Regions from separate parts of the Homo sapiens genome. Here all the other regions are linked to region 3. Evidence: promoter capture Hi-C in human tissues and cell types (Jung and others, 2019). All regions are on one chromosome and are shown on one strand. The core of a region is centred on a gene start or on the middle of the fragment in contact, and the rest is flanking DNA. Distances in the headings are between cores, read along the strand shown. Region 1 overlaps NXN (nucleoredoxin). Region 2 overlaps ABR (ABR activator of RhoGEF and GTPase). Region 3 holds the start of GLOD4 (glyoxalase domain containing 4).

Region 1 (4,047 bases), core at 922-3,421, 160 kb after region 3:
GCAGCGACGGGTGCCCTGGTGAGTGTCCACGGTGAGGTGGTGAGTGTGCACCACACACAACCCGGCCAGCATCTGCCCAGGTCAAGCCCATCCTGTCAGTGCACACGCCGCGTGCTGCCACCACCCAGCTCGATGATTCTCTCCTTCCACACCTTCCGGTCCCCAAAAGTGACTGAAAGCAGGATTCTGCTGCGGAAAAACTGGACTTGGAGGAAGGGCAGGAGAGAAGGGCGAGGTGTGTCGGCCTGCCTCAGGTCTGGGGTGCCCAATTCTGGTTGTGCAAACAGTGAGGGAAAAAAAGGGTGCTACGATGTCTGGCTAAAACGGGGCATCAGAGCTGTCGGCGGTACCAGTTTTCAGAATCCATGGATTTATAACGGATTTCTTTTCTAACTTGCAAACGCATACGAGATACTTCACAGAGGTATTACAGTTAAGTCACACTTCCCCACATAAGCTCACCTTTAATGAAAAAGTTAAAATGACATAAAACTGGGAGTGTTCCAGAAAAGGCAGGCCTGTGTTCACCATCACAACACCTATGGATAGAAAAGAGGCAGAAAGGCCGGGTACGGTGGCTCACGCCTGTAATCCCAGCACTTTGGGAGGCTGAGGTGGGAGGATCAGCTTGACCCCAGGAGGCCGAGATTGCACAACCGCATTCCAGCCTGAGTGACACAGTGAGACTCTGCAGCCTTTACTGCAGCCTTTGCCTCCCGGGCTCAAGTGATCCTCCCACCTCGGTGTCCTGAGTGGCTGGGATTACAGGCACCCAGCACCACGCCCGGCTGATTTTTTGTATTTTTTGTAGAGATGGGGTTTCATCATGTTGGCCGGGCTGGTCTCAAACTACTGAGCTCGGGTGATCCGCCCGCCTCGGCCTCCCAAGGTGCTGGGTGCATTTTTTCTTAAGGAAGAAAAAGGAGGGCAGGGGGCAAGGTGCAGGGCAAAAAAGAAGAGCCCAGGAGTCCAAGAGGGAAGCGGCCAGAGGAAACGGAAGGAATCAGCTTCCAACAGGGACCCACAAGGCTGCTTGAGAACTCAGGACACAAGGAACACACCTGGAGAAGGGGGCTCTGCGGTGATCCGTACACAGTGAGAACCAAAGGGGCAGCTTCAGGGAAAACAGGTGGGGAGGGACAAAAGGAGGGAAAAGCCAAAACTCTCCGTCATCGAGAGGAACGCACACTTCTCCGAGGCTATTGCCGGTTCAAGCTCGTTTCCTTCAGAACACACCCCCAAAGTTCCTGGGGTCCCCCCACCGCCCTCCCCAACACACACACTCACTCCAATTTCACTCTTTTCTGCACAGATTCCAGGGAAGTATCCTGGAGACAGACATCAAAGGCATCCGAGCTGGCAGCCCACAACAGGTCACGCTGTCACGGGGACGCCGGGAACCACATGAAAAGCAGAGAATTCACGGGGCGTTCGATGATGATGATTATTTTTTAAGGAGCTCAGAAATGTCTTTCGTTTCAGTTTTAGTTTAAGGACAGCTACCTCTGGGGGAATGGCTTTGAAGTCACATAGCCCAGAGCAGCGCTCAGCAGCCACGAGGGAAGAAAAACGCTGCGCCCAGCGGAAAGGCCACAGGAGCCACGGGGCGCAGGGGCCGTCGCTGAAGAAGAACCCAGAAGGCTTCTGCTTTTGGTACAAGGACAGGAAGGAAGAGGAATGGCTGCAGCTGGGACCACATTTGAAAACCCACCAAGGCCAACCTTGCAATGGCCTTCTGCGTAGCAGCAAATACACAGAGGTTAAGGGGCAGAGGCCCCAGGAGAACCCTGTGAATATGCCTATTCGGAGGGGTCAGGGTCAGAGGACAAAAGAGGCCGGAGAGGAACAAGCTTTCCACTTGGGCGGTTTTACTGCTCCAGAAAGCAGTTTTTGAAAAGCACGAGATGATGGGAAGGCCCAGGTCGGCGGTTAGATCTAGAGCAGGCGGCAAGAGCTTGCCCTGATATGACAGCAAGTGAGCTGGCCACAAACACAGCTCACAGCTAGTGCGAAGGCCGAGCCAAAGAAAAGGTCCCCAGCCCGGCCGGGCGCGGCGGCTCACGCCTGTAATCCCAACACTTTGGGAGGCTGAGGCAGGCGGATCACGAGGTCAGGAGTTCGAGATCAGCCCAGCCAACATGGCGAAACCCCCGTCTCTACTAAAAAAATACAAAACTTAGCCGGGCTTAGTGACGAGCCCCTGTAGTCCCAGCTACTTGGGAGGCGGAGGCAGGAGAATCACTTGAACCTGGGGAGGCGGAGGTCGCAGTGAGCCGAGATTGCGCCACTGCACTCCAGCCTGGGTGACAGAGTGAGACACTGTCTCAAAAAACAAAACAAAAAACAAAAACAAAAAGAAAGAAAACAGGCAAAATCAAAAGAAAAATGATGAAAAAGAAGATAAAATTAAGAACAGAACAGGCTGGGCGCGGTGGCTCATGCCTGTAATCCCAGCACTTTGGTAGGCCGAGGCGGGCGGATCACTTGAGGCCAGGGGTTCAAGACCAGCCTGGCCAACATGGCAAAACCCCGTCTCTACTAAAAATTAGCTGGGTGTGGTGGCGGGCTCCTGTAATCCCAGCTACACGGGACGCTGAGGCAGGAGAATTGCTTGAGCCTGGGAGGCAGAGACTGCAGTGAGCCAAGATCTCACCGCTGCACTCCAGCCTGGGCGACAAGGGTGAGACTCCCTCTCAAAAAAAAAAGAAAGAAAGAAAAGAACAAATGAAAGGAAAATGAGAGCTAAAAATATAACAGAATCTTTGACCTAGCAATTCCTCTTCTAGGAATTTATCCTTAGAGAACCACCAAAGATGTGCACAGAGAAGAATATAAAAACAAGTTTATAACAGCGCTGGTTATTCCAGCAAAATCTGGAACTGGCCTACATTTCCTATCATAGGAAACTGGAAACTATTAAATATGGTACATATATACACATAGACAGATAGATACAGCAAAATACCACGTAACTATTAGAAATCAGCTTTTTTTTTTTTTTTTTGAGACAAGAGTTTCACTCTTGTCACCCAGGCTGGAGTGCAGTGGCACCATCTTGGCTCACTGCAATCTCTGCCTCGCAGGTTCAAGTGATTCTCCTGCCTTATCCTCCCCAGTAGCAGGGATTACAGGTGCCCGCCACCACGCCTAATTAATTCCTATATTTTTAGTAGAGATGGGGTTTCACCATGTTGGCCAGGCTGGTCTCAAACTCCTGACCTCAGGTGATCCTCCCACCTTGGCCTCCCAAAGTGCTGGGATTACAGGCGTGAGCCACCGCGCCTGGCCAGAGATCATCTTTTTAAAGAATACGTTCTTACATGAAAATACACTCAAAATACATCCTAATTGTGTAAGACACACACGTACGTGCCTACATAGGAAAAGACAAGGCTGCCTTGTGATGTCGGAACATCCATGCTTCTAGCTAGGGGGTCTGCAGGAGACTGATCCCCCACATGCTTTTTTTGTATTCGATGATCCATTATTACTTTTTAAAAAATATAATTTGCAGGCATGAGCAACACTGTGGCGGGCCCTGCAGTGGGGCAGGGAGAGTGCAGTCAACTCCCGCTTCCAGTATTACCTTTTTTTTCTTATTTTTTTTTTGCTGTCATCCAGGCTGGAGTGCAGTGGTGTGATCATGGCTCACTGTAGCCTCAAACTGCCGGGATCAAGTGATCCTCCCACCTCAGCCTCCTGAGTAGCCGGGACCACAGGCACAGGCCACCACGCCAGCTAACTAATTTTTGTATTTTTTTGGTAGAGATCGAGGTGGGGGGGTCTCAGTATGTTCCCCAGGCTGGCCTCAGGTGATCCTCCCACTTCTGCCTCCCAAAGTGCTGGAATTACAGGCATGAGCCACTGTGCCTGGCCTCAATTTTTTTTTTTTTTTGGTCTCTTTCTCCCCCTTTTTGTGGATTATAGGGTTTCGCTATGTTGCCTAGGCAGGTCTCAAACTCCTGGGCTCAAGCTATCTTCCCATCTCTGTCTCCTTAAGCGCTGGGATTACAGGCGTGAGCCATTGCACCTGGCCTCAATATTACT
Region 2 (4,322 bases), core at 1,565-4,064, 250 kb after region 3:
CACCTGGCAGCTCCCCCAGACTCACACCTGCAGGCTTGGGGGCGCTTCCAAAATGCCTGGGGCAGCTCCCCCAGACTCACACCTGCAGGCTTGGGGGCTCCTTCCAAAATGCCTGGGGCAGCTCCCCCAGACTCACACCTGCAGGCTTGGGGGCTCCTTCCAAAATGCCTGGGGCAGCTCCCCCAGCCACACCTGCAGGCTTGGGGGCTCCTTCCAAAATGTCTGGGGCCTCATTGCCTCTGGGTACTACAGCAACACTGGGCTCAGGCAGCTTTGGCCTTTGAGGAACCCCCTTGATTGGCAGGTTCTCCTCTCCCTGGTCCAGAGCCATCCAAAAGCTGGGGCACCGCGCCCAGCACCGCTGGCTGGCCAAGCCGTCTGTGGCCTGCAGGGAGGCCGGGGAGGACCAGCGCCCTTCTACCCTCCCTAGGTACCAAGAAGCGGCACCTTGCCAAGTTCACTCAGAGCAGGGTTCCCGCCTTGATGTCTGCAGCCCCCTCTGAAGTCGCACACAGTGTGTGCATGGGGTGGCTCTGTGTCTGAGTGGCCTCCAGAACCTTCATCAGATTCTCAGAGTCCAGGGTTCCCGCTCTGCGGACTCAAGCAAGCCTCTTGGGAGCTGGCCTGGCAGAGAGATCAGAGAGTACTCATGAGGCCCCAGCAGTGAGGTCTGCCCACTCGGCAGGTGGGTAAGTGCTGTGGAAAAGAGGGAGGGTCGCCCGACCCCACTGCCAACCTGTCAGCCAGCCTGGCCGCAGTCAGGACCCACACATAGGCCCAGGAAGAGGTGGGCTGGTGTAGGGGCCTCCAGCTCTCGGGGGAGGCAGCACTGTAGTCCCCTGTCTGTGGCTGAGGGGTCGCTATGGGGGTGTGTGTGAACAGAGAAGACGCACGATGAAGCTTTCTTCCCACCGGGAAACAAGGAAGGGCGGTGGGCAGCCGGGCCAGGCCAGACTTCTATTGCAGAAGGCTGCGAGATCTTTCCTGACGCCCAGACTGGATTATAAAATAAAGTAGACGAGCCCAAGACATATCTGTATCTTGTACCCAGCACCTGTGTACCCTCGATGGCCAAGTGAGTGGTAGAGTGAACCTCTGGGGTGTGCACGTGGTCTGCACACCTGGTACCATCAAGAAGGAATAAACGACAGGCTCTGTGAGGGGTGGGGTTGTCCTGCGGTGGCGATCAAGCTGACAAAGAAAGGGACCCTTTCCTCCCCCCACCCCAAGACCGAGTCTCGCTCTGTTGCCCAGGCTGGAGTGCAGTGGCATGATCTCGGCTCACTGCAACCTCCACCTCCCAGGTTCAAGCGATGCTCCTGCCTCAGCCTCCCTAGCAGCTGGGATTACAGGTGCCCGCCACCATGCCCGGCTATTTTTTTTTTTTTTGTATTTTTAGTAGACACGGGGTTTCACCATGTTGGCCAGGCTGGTCTCGAACGCCTGACCTCAGGTGATCCACCCGCCTCTGCCTCCCAAAGTGCTGGGATGACAGGCGTGAGCCACCACACTTGGCTAATTTTTGCATTGTTAGTTGAGACGGGGCTTCTCCATGTTGGCCAGGCTGGTCTTGGACTCCTGACATCAGGTGATCCAAGAAAGGGACCTTCTTCTAAGACCATCATGAGCCTGAAGCTTCCCCGAATGGCCCAAGAGGGGCTCTCCACCCCGCCCTTCCTCAGGTAACACCTCTGATCCTCTCTGAAGCAAAGGCAGCAGCTCCCATCACAGAACACGGGACTCACCGTGGGGGTCAGCAGTGCCGGTGTCCAGCTTAAGAGGAGCTCTTTGGAAGTAGGGGATTCTCAGACCCACATGGCTGTGCTTCAGGGCAGAGACAAGGTCACCTGAAGCTGCACTCAATCTCCTTACACCCTGCCGGCTCAGCCTGAGTCCCCACCGCCGGCCAGCATCTGGCCTGGTCTGGGTCAGGAGCGTCTTGGACTTGGTTGCTCTATAAGGGCCTCAACTTCCCCGACAGACAAATGCTTCTGGACCGGCCTCCCTTCAGGCCCTCTTAGCCTCCTCACGGCTCCCACAAGGGGATGCTGCGGGGGCAGGGTGGGGGGGTTCCTCCTTCAGCCCCTTCCCCTCCAAAGCTCAAGCGAGAATCTAGAATTCAGCCCCTTCCCATCCAAAGCTCAACCAAGAATCTAGAAGAGGGAAGGATGGGAGGGAGAGGAAGGCACCGGGCCTGGTCTACTTGAGTGTGATTTGAGGCAAAAAAAAAAAAAAACAAACAGGGAAAAGGAAAGAAAAGTAGAAACGCGAAGTTCAATACCGAGAGCCCTGGCTGAACCCACAAACCCAGATGCCACGTGTCTCCCAGCTAAACACTCGCACAAAAAGCTGACTGCCAAGTCAGGGGCTGGAATGAGGCTTTGGCCCCTGAACTCTCCTCCGGTGACAAGAACAGCCCAACCACAGGGACCCCCGCTGGTACCCAAAGGATCCTCCGTGAGTGTCCCTGCCTCCTCTCCCCCAGAAACCAGAGGCCCTGCACTATTTAAAGGCTCAGTTCTGATCATGAGACCTTTCCATCTGAACAGATTGTTTAATCCCAGCCCTGGATGAGTCACGCCCCGCCTCCAGCCTTTAATGAACCTTCAGGTCAGTGGAAGCAGGAGGGCCACCGGTGTTTCTCGCACCCACAGCATCACTCAGGGCAAAGTTAACGAGGAGTTAATGAGGCAATCCCTCCTGCCAGTCTGGGCAGTACCAGGCACCCTTCCCTTACCCCACCGAAACGAAACTGCCTAGTCCCAGCCCCTCGGCCCAACTGTGAAGCTCCTGCAGGAAAATGCCAGGTTAATGTGGCTGAGGATAGAAAGCAAGAGGCCTGGCCCTTTGACTCTGCTGCTCACCCGCTGGCCTGCGCACAGTGAGGTGGGAAGCACAGGGCAGACGTCCCTCCGTCCACCACAGCGCTGACCCGTGTCCACGACACGGACACACTGTGGCAGACGTCCCTCCGTCCACCACAGCGCTGACCCCTGCGTCCACGACACGGACACACTGTGGCAGACGTCCCTCCGTCCGCCACAGCGCTGACCCCTGCGTCCACGACACGGACACACTGTGGCACACAGCACACGTTAGGGGATGGAATCGCTCGTCACACAGAGCAGCCCAGGGCCGGGGCCACCCTGAGCTGCACTGACGCCAACTGCTCAGCAGCTCAATAGCCCGGCGTCTGCCTGGCCACCACCCCTGCCCAGAGATCCCCATCAGACACGGAGCCACCAGGCACTGCCAGAGGCAAACCCAGCTAAGGAATTCTTGAAGGGGCTTCTCAGTTCTGCCGGCCACAAATGCATAGGGAAAGAACTGAAAGTCTGGGACCTCAGGTTTAAAAGTTGCCCCCTGCCCACCAGGCACCTCCTCAAAGGGGCAGGTAAACTGGAAGCGCCCTGTTTGGCTGGCGCTGGACCCGGAACCTGCCAGGTCAGTTTCTTGCCAACCCTGACGTTTGGGGATGGATGGTGAGCTCTGGGCTGGTGCCTGCTGGCCTCAGCAGGGGCTGGGGAGGGGATGAGTCCACGCTGCCGGGCACAGACAGCTGCCTCAGCACAGAGGGGCTCTGGCAGCAGCTGGGGCCAGCAGGGCTCTGCTAGCCCAGTCCCCAGGGAGGCTGAAGGTGACACAGGGGCCAGTGCAGTACAGCTCAAGTTGCTGCCCTGCCCAGCACTTTCCAGGGCTGATGTCACCTCTGGGAGGTCAAGTATGCCCCATGGCAGGAGCTGAAACAAAACGAGGGGCCAGTGAGCCCAAGATCACTTCGTCCTGGCTGATGCCAGGAGCCTCAATGCCGGCTGGCAGTAAGAGCCTGCAGAGAGGTCCTGTGAGCCTCAGGAGGAGCTGCAGATCCCCACCACGGACTGGCCAAGGCCTCCCTTGTTGCTCTCTTGATGGATGGGCCCAGCCCTGGCCAGCCGGACTGGCACTCTGAGACAGCTAACTCGGACAGTTGATTTGATCTGCAGAGTTATCGAGCACTTCCTGTGCGCTGGGCGCTGGGTCTGGCTCTTCCTCACGTGCCTGATGCCAGGGCCCCAAGCCAGCCCCGAGGCAGCCTGCCCAGCTGCAGGACAGTCGGCTTCTATCTCAGATTTTAATCCCAACTCAGGTCTGGGGCTGCAGGGGCACCGGCGGTCTGCCCTGGCACATGGACGGAACGCCTGGTGCCCGGCGGGCACTGGGCCCACAGTCAGATGGGTGGTCCCTGAAGGGAAGCCTCGAGCCCCCAGACCCGGCAGCATCTCCCCTCCCCACAATCCTGCACAGAGAAACCTCACACGGCAGACGGTGCTGCGGTCGGCGCC
Region 3 (3,686 bases), core at 125-2,624:
AGGTGTTGAATCTTTTTTTTTTTTTTTTTTTTGAGACGGAGTTTTGCTTTCGTCATCCAGGCTGGAACACAATGGTGCGATCTCGGCTCACTGCAACCTCCGCCTCCCAGATACAGGCGATTCTCTTGCCTCAGCCTCCCGAGTAGCTGGGATTACAGGCGTGTGCCACCATGCCCGGCTAATTTTTGTATTTTTAGTAGAGACAGGGTTTCACCATGTTGGCCAGGCTGGTGTCCAACTCCTGACCTCCAGTGATCCACCCGCCTTGGCCTCCCAAAGTGCTGAGATTACAGGCGTGGGCCACCGCGCCGGCACGTGTTTAATCTTTGCAACAACCTTTTGATCGACGAGGAAATACTAACAAGGGACAGCTCTGTGGTTTCTGCTATCGAAAGTTTGGTGGTTTTTCACTATCAAATTCTGACTTCCATTACCATCATCTACGTACAAATCCAGTTCCAACTCCCACCCCAACCCAGGCCATGAGCTCTAATGGAGGATATATATCAGGGTCATTTGCACCTTTGTTGCCAAAACTCAACGTAGTACCCTGAAAATAGCAGATATTTTAAAAATGACCTGACGAATTCAGATCCCCGTCTATTGCACCGTCTATACACTAAACCGCGCTCTTGCACCTTTCAAGTCTTCCTTAGTGGTGTGTTCCCTACCTCCCTGGCTTATCAAAGGAGGTCCCCAAAACCCAGTTCCCCAACCAACTGAATCCTGCAAATAACAGCTCCTCAGGACCCGAGACAGACCGCTTCTGGGTGCTGTTGAAAAGCAGATGGGTTGAGAGTTGGAGCATATATTCAGAGACTGAGTATCCGAAACGGACTATTCAGACCAGCCTTGCTAGAAGCAGAACTCTGAATACGCTGATTTTATCTACATCAAAGGCTCCAAACCGGAAAACACAAATATTAACTAGAAAGCATTATATAACATTTTATTTACCGTCTTTTCCGGTAGACGGTAAGCTCCACAAGGGCGGGGCTCAATAAACGTTTACGAGTGGCTTAAATGAAAGGACGTGCGTGGGCACACCGCGGGGACTAATCGTGTTAGGCCCTTCTCCAAGGCCTATGATCCCCAACGGCAACTCGCCACGCTCCTGAAGCTGAACACCGCGCAGGGCCTAAGGTCGGACACCCTCCGGCTTAGGTTCACGACACACCCATTTTCCCCTCCCTCCGCCAGGGCCGGCTCGGGCGCCGGTTCCAGCCTCGCGCGCCAGCCCCTGTCGGCCCCGGCCTGCACCTTCATCCCCAGGACGTCCCGATAGAAACGCGCCGTCTGGAAGCGGTTTCCCACTTTGAATACGAAGTGCAGAGCTCTGCGAGCAGCCATGATTCCCGCCGCACGCAGCCGTCACGCGCACCGTACAGCCCAGTCCACGAAGGGCGCCACGGGCCGTGACGTCACTAGCCGCCGACGGCGCGCTTTCGTGACGCAGCCCGGGTCTCAGGGAACATGGCGGCGCTGGTGAGACCCGCGAGGTTTGTCGTGCGACCGTTGCTGCAGGTGGTCCAGGCTTGGGACCTTGACGCGAGGCGCTGGGTCCGGGCGCTGCGGCGGAGCCCAGTGAAAGTGGTGTTTCCTTCCGGAGAGGTGGTGGAACAGAAGCGCGCTCCTGGGAAGCAGCCCCGCAAGGCACCATCTGAGGCCAGTGCCCAGGAGCAACGAGAGAAACAACCGCTCGAGGAGTCCGCATCCCGCGCTCCCAGCACCTGGGAAGAGTCTGGGCTTCGCTACGATAAAGCTTATCCCGGGGACAGGAGGCTGAGGTGATGTGGTTCTTGAGCCTGTCGAATGTTCTCGTTTCCCTTCCCGTCGCACAGCGGAACCTTAACCTCCTTCCGATGGAGGACTTCTTCCAGTACAGCCCGCTGGTTTTTGTATTATGCACAGAGGGCCGAATAAGCGTCTTTGGAATTAGCTTCTGTTTCTCCTTAGCTCTTTGTTGTTGTTTTTGTTTCACCATGTTAGCCAGGCTGATCTGGAACTCCTGACCTCAGGTGATCCGCCCGCCTCGGCCTCCCAATGTGCTGGGATTACAGGCGTGAGCCACCGCGCCCGGCCCTCTCCGTAGCTCTTTATTTCTGTTACAACTAAGCGTGTCTCAGTAACAAGGATGTTGATAGTTACCTGTTTTTTTTTTTTATTTCCATCTACAGCAGTGTAATGACAATAGTAAAGTCCAGGCCATTTCGGGAAAAACAAGGGAAGATCCTGCTGGAAGGTCGCAGGCTCATTTCAGACGCTCTCAAGGCTGGAGCTGTGCCAAAAATGTTCTTCTTTAGCCGTCTAGAATACCTAAAGGAGTTGCCAGTCGATAAGCTGAAAGGTGTCAGCCTCATTAAGGTGAAATTTGAGGATATCAAGGATTGGTCCGACCTCGTAACGCCACAAGGAATAATGGGTTAGTGATTACCCAGTGTATCTTTTTTTTTTTTTGTCTTGTTCTGTCACCCAGGCTGGAGTGCAATGGCGCGATCTCGGCCCACTGCAACCTCCGCCTCTCGGGTTCAAGGGATTCTCTTGCCTCAGCCTCCGCAGTAGCTGGGATTACAGGCGTCTGCCACCATGCCCGGGTGATTTTTGTATTTTTAGTAGAGGTGGGGTTTCACCATGTTGGCCAGGCTGACGTCGAACTTGTGACCTCAGGTGATCCTCCTGCCTCGGCCTCCCAAAGTGCTGGGATTACAGGCGTGAGCCACCATGCCTGGCCTTACACAGTGTATCTTAAGGTGTGGAGACCTAGGATTAATTTCTCATACTTGTCTTAGGACAGCAGCATTGAAATGAAATTCAAAATGTTACAATTAGAAAAATATAATTCTCAAACCTGTGTATCTTAGAGTATTTTCAATGGAAATTGAAACCCGTTTTTCACTATCATTTGTGTTGTGGCTCTTTATGGTCTCTAGGAAGAACCACTATTCCTCAAACCTTCTATTTTTTAGATTACTTCTTCAACTTTCTATGTCAGATTAAAAATTAAGAAAGCGTTTACTGAAAGATTGAGCCCTTCATTTTTGCAAAACCTCTGCCAATGTGGTGATAACTGTCAATAAACTGCTTATTCCAGAAGCAGATCTAAGAAGCGAGGTACAAGCCACAATTTACTGCCCCGTTTAGCCCAATAAACAGAGAACCTTGTCTTCTAGTCTGTTCCTTCATTTGGCTGAATCTGACTTAACCTTATGTAACTCCGATGTTGATTAGCAGTTACAAAGTCTTTGGTCTAAATATGAGAAGATAAGTTTTTCATACGTTTTTGACATGGGAGTTTTAAGATATGAAAACTGAATCCTTGAACTGCTGAGAGAGGAGATTCTGGGGAACCATCTCTTGTCTCTGTAACCCAGTGAGTCACAGGGATCTGTGCCTCTGCACTCAGAGCTCTTAGATCCTAGGATGGGGACTTGGATTACTAAAGTACCTAGAATTACTCATGCTAAGTAACCATATTCTCACTAGCTACAGCCCTCTAATCCACACGCCATGCTTCAGTGAAAGTGTTATTCATTTTTACCGTGCTTGTCACTTGGGGCAGGTGTGCTCACAGTGGCCAGCCCATCTTGAACTTGTGCTTGTCACTTGGGGCAGGTGTGCTCACAGTGGCCAGCCCATCTTGAACTTGTGCTTGTCACTTGGGGCAGGTGTGCTTACAGTGGCCAACC

The links. The method cuts DNA at HindIII sites, captures the fragments that hold promoters and counts their contacts. A contact is called where the count stands out against the background at its distance.
Region 1: a fragment that was not itself captured here is called in contact with the fragment with the promoter of GLOD4 in region 3 in 1 of the 25 tissues and cell types used here (mesendoderm cells).
Region 2: a fragment that was not itself captured here is called in contact with the fragment with the promoter of GLOD4 in region 3 in 5 of the 25 tissues and cell types used here (H1 embryonic stem cells, IMR-90 fibroblasts, lymphoblastoid cells and 2 more).

What each region holds. Positions count from the first base shown.
Region 1 is chr17:936,358-940,404 of GRCh38, forward strand. The region is part of intron 1 of NXN (nucleoredoxin); the gene reads right to left. Among named protein-coding and RNA genes, the nearest start is that of NXN, 41 kb to the right of the region's middle. The HindIII fragment of the contact is 5,440 bases long and covers 1-4,047 here.
Region 2 is chr17:1,026,882-1,031,203 of GRCh38, forward strand. All of the region lies in intron 16 of ABR (ABR activator of RhoGEF and GTPase), which reads right to left. Among named protein-coding and RNA genes, the nearest start is that of MIR3183, 6.5 kb to the left of the region's middle. RefSeq lists an enhancer at 3,668-3,837. The HindIII fragment of the contact is 7,966 bases long and covers 1-4,322 here.
Region 3 is chr17:780,906-784,591 of GRCh38, forward strand. GLOD4 (glyoxalase domain containing 4) reads right to left here and starts at 1,375. Exons shown (of 9, transcript NM_016080.4): 1 at 1,261-1,375. The coding sequence starts at 1,350. MRM3 (mitochondrial rRNA methyltransferase 3) reads left to right here and starts at 1,448. Exons shown (of 4, transcript NM_018146.4): 1 at 1,448-1,787; 2 at 2,178-2,422. The coding sequence starts at 1,474. RefSeq lists enhancers at 306-405, 1,406-1,755, 1,427-1,975. The HindIII fragment of the contact is 5,823 bases long and covers 1-3,015 here.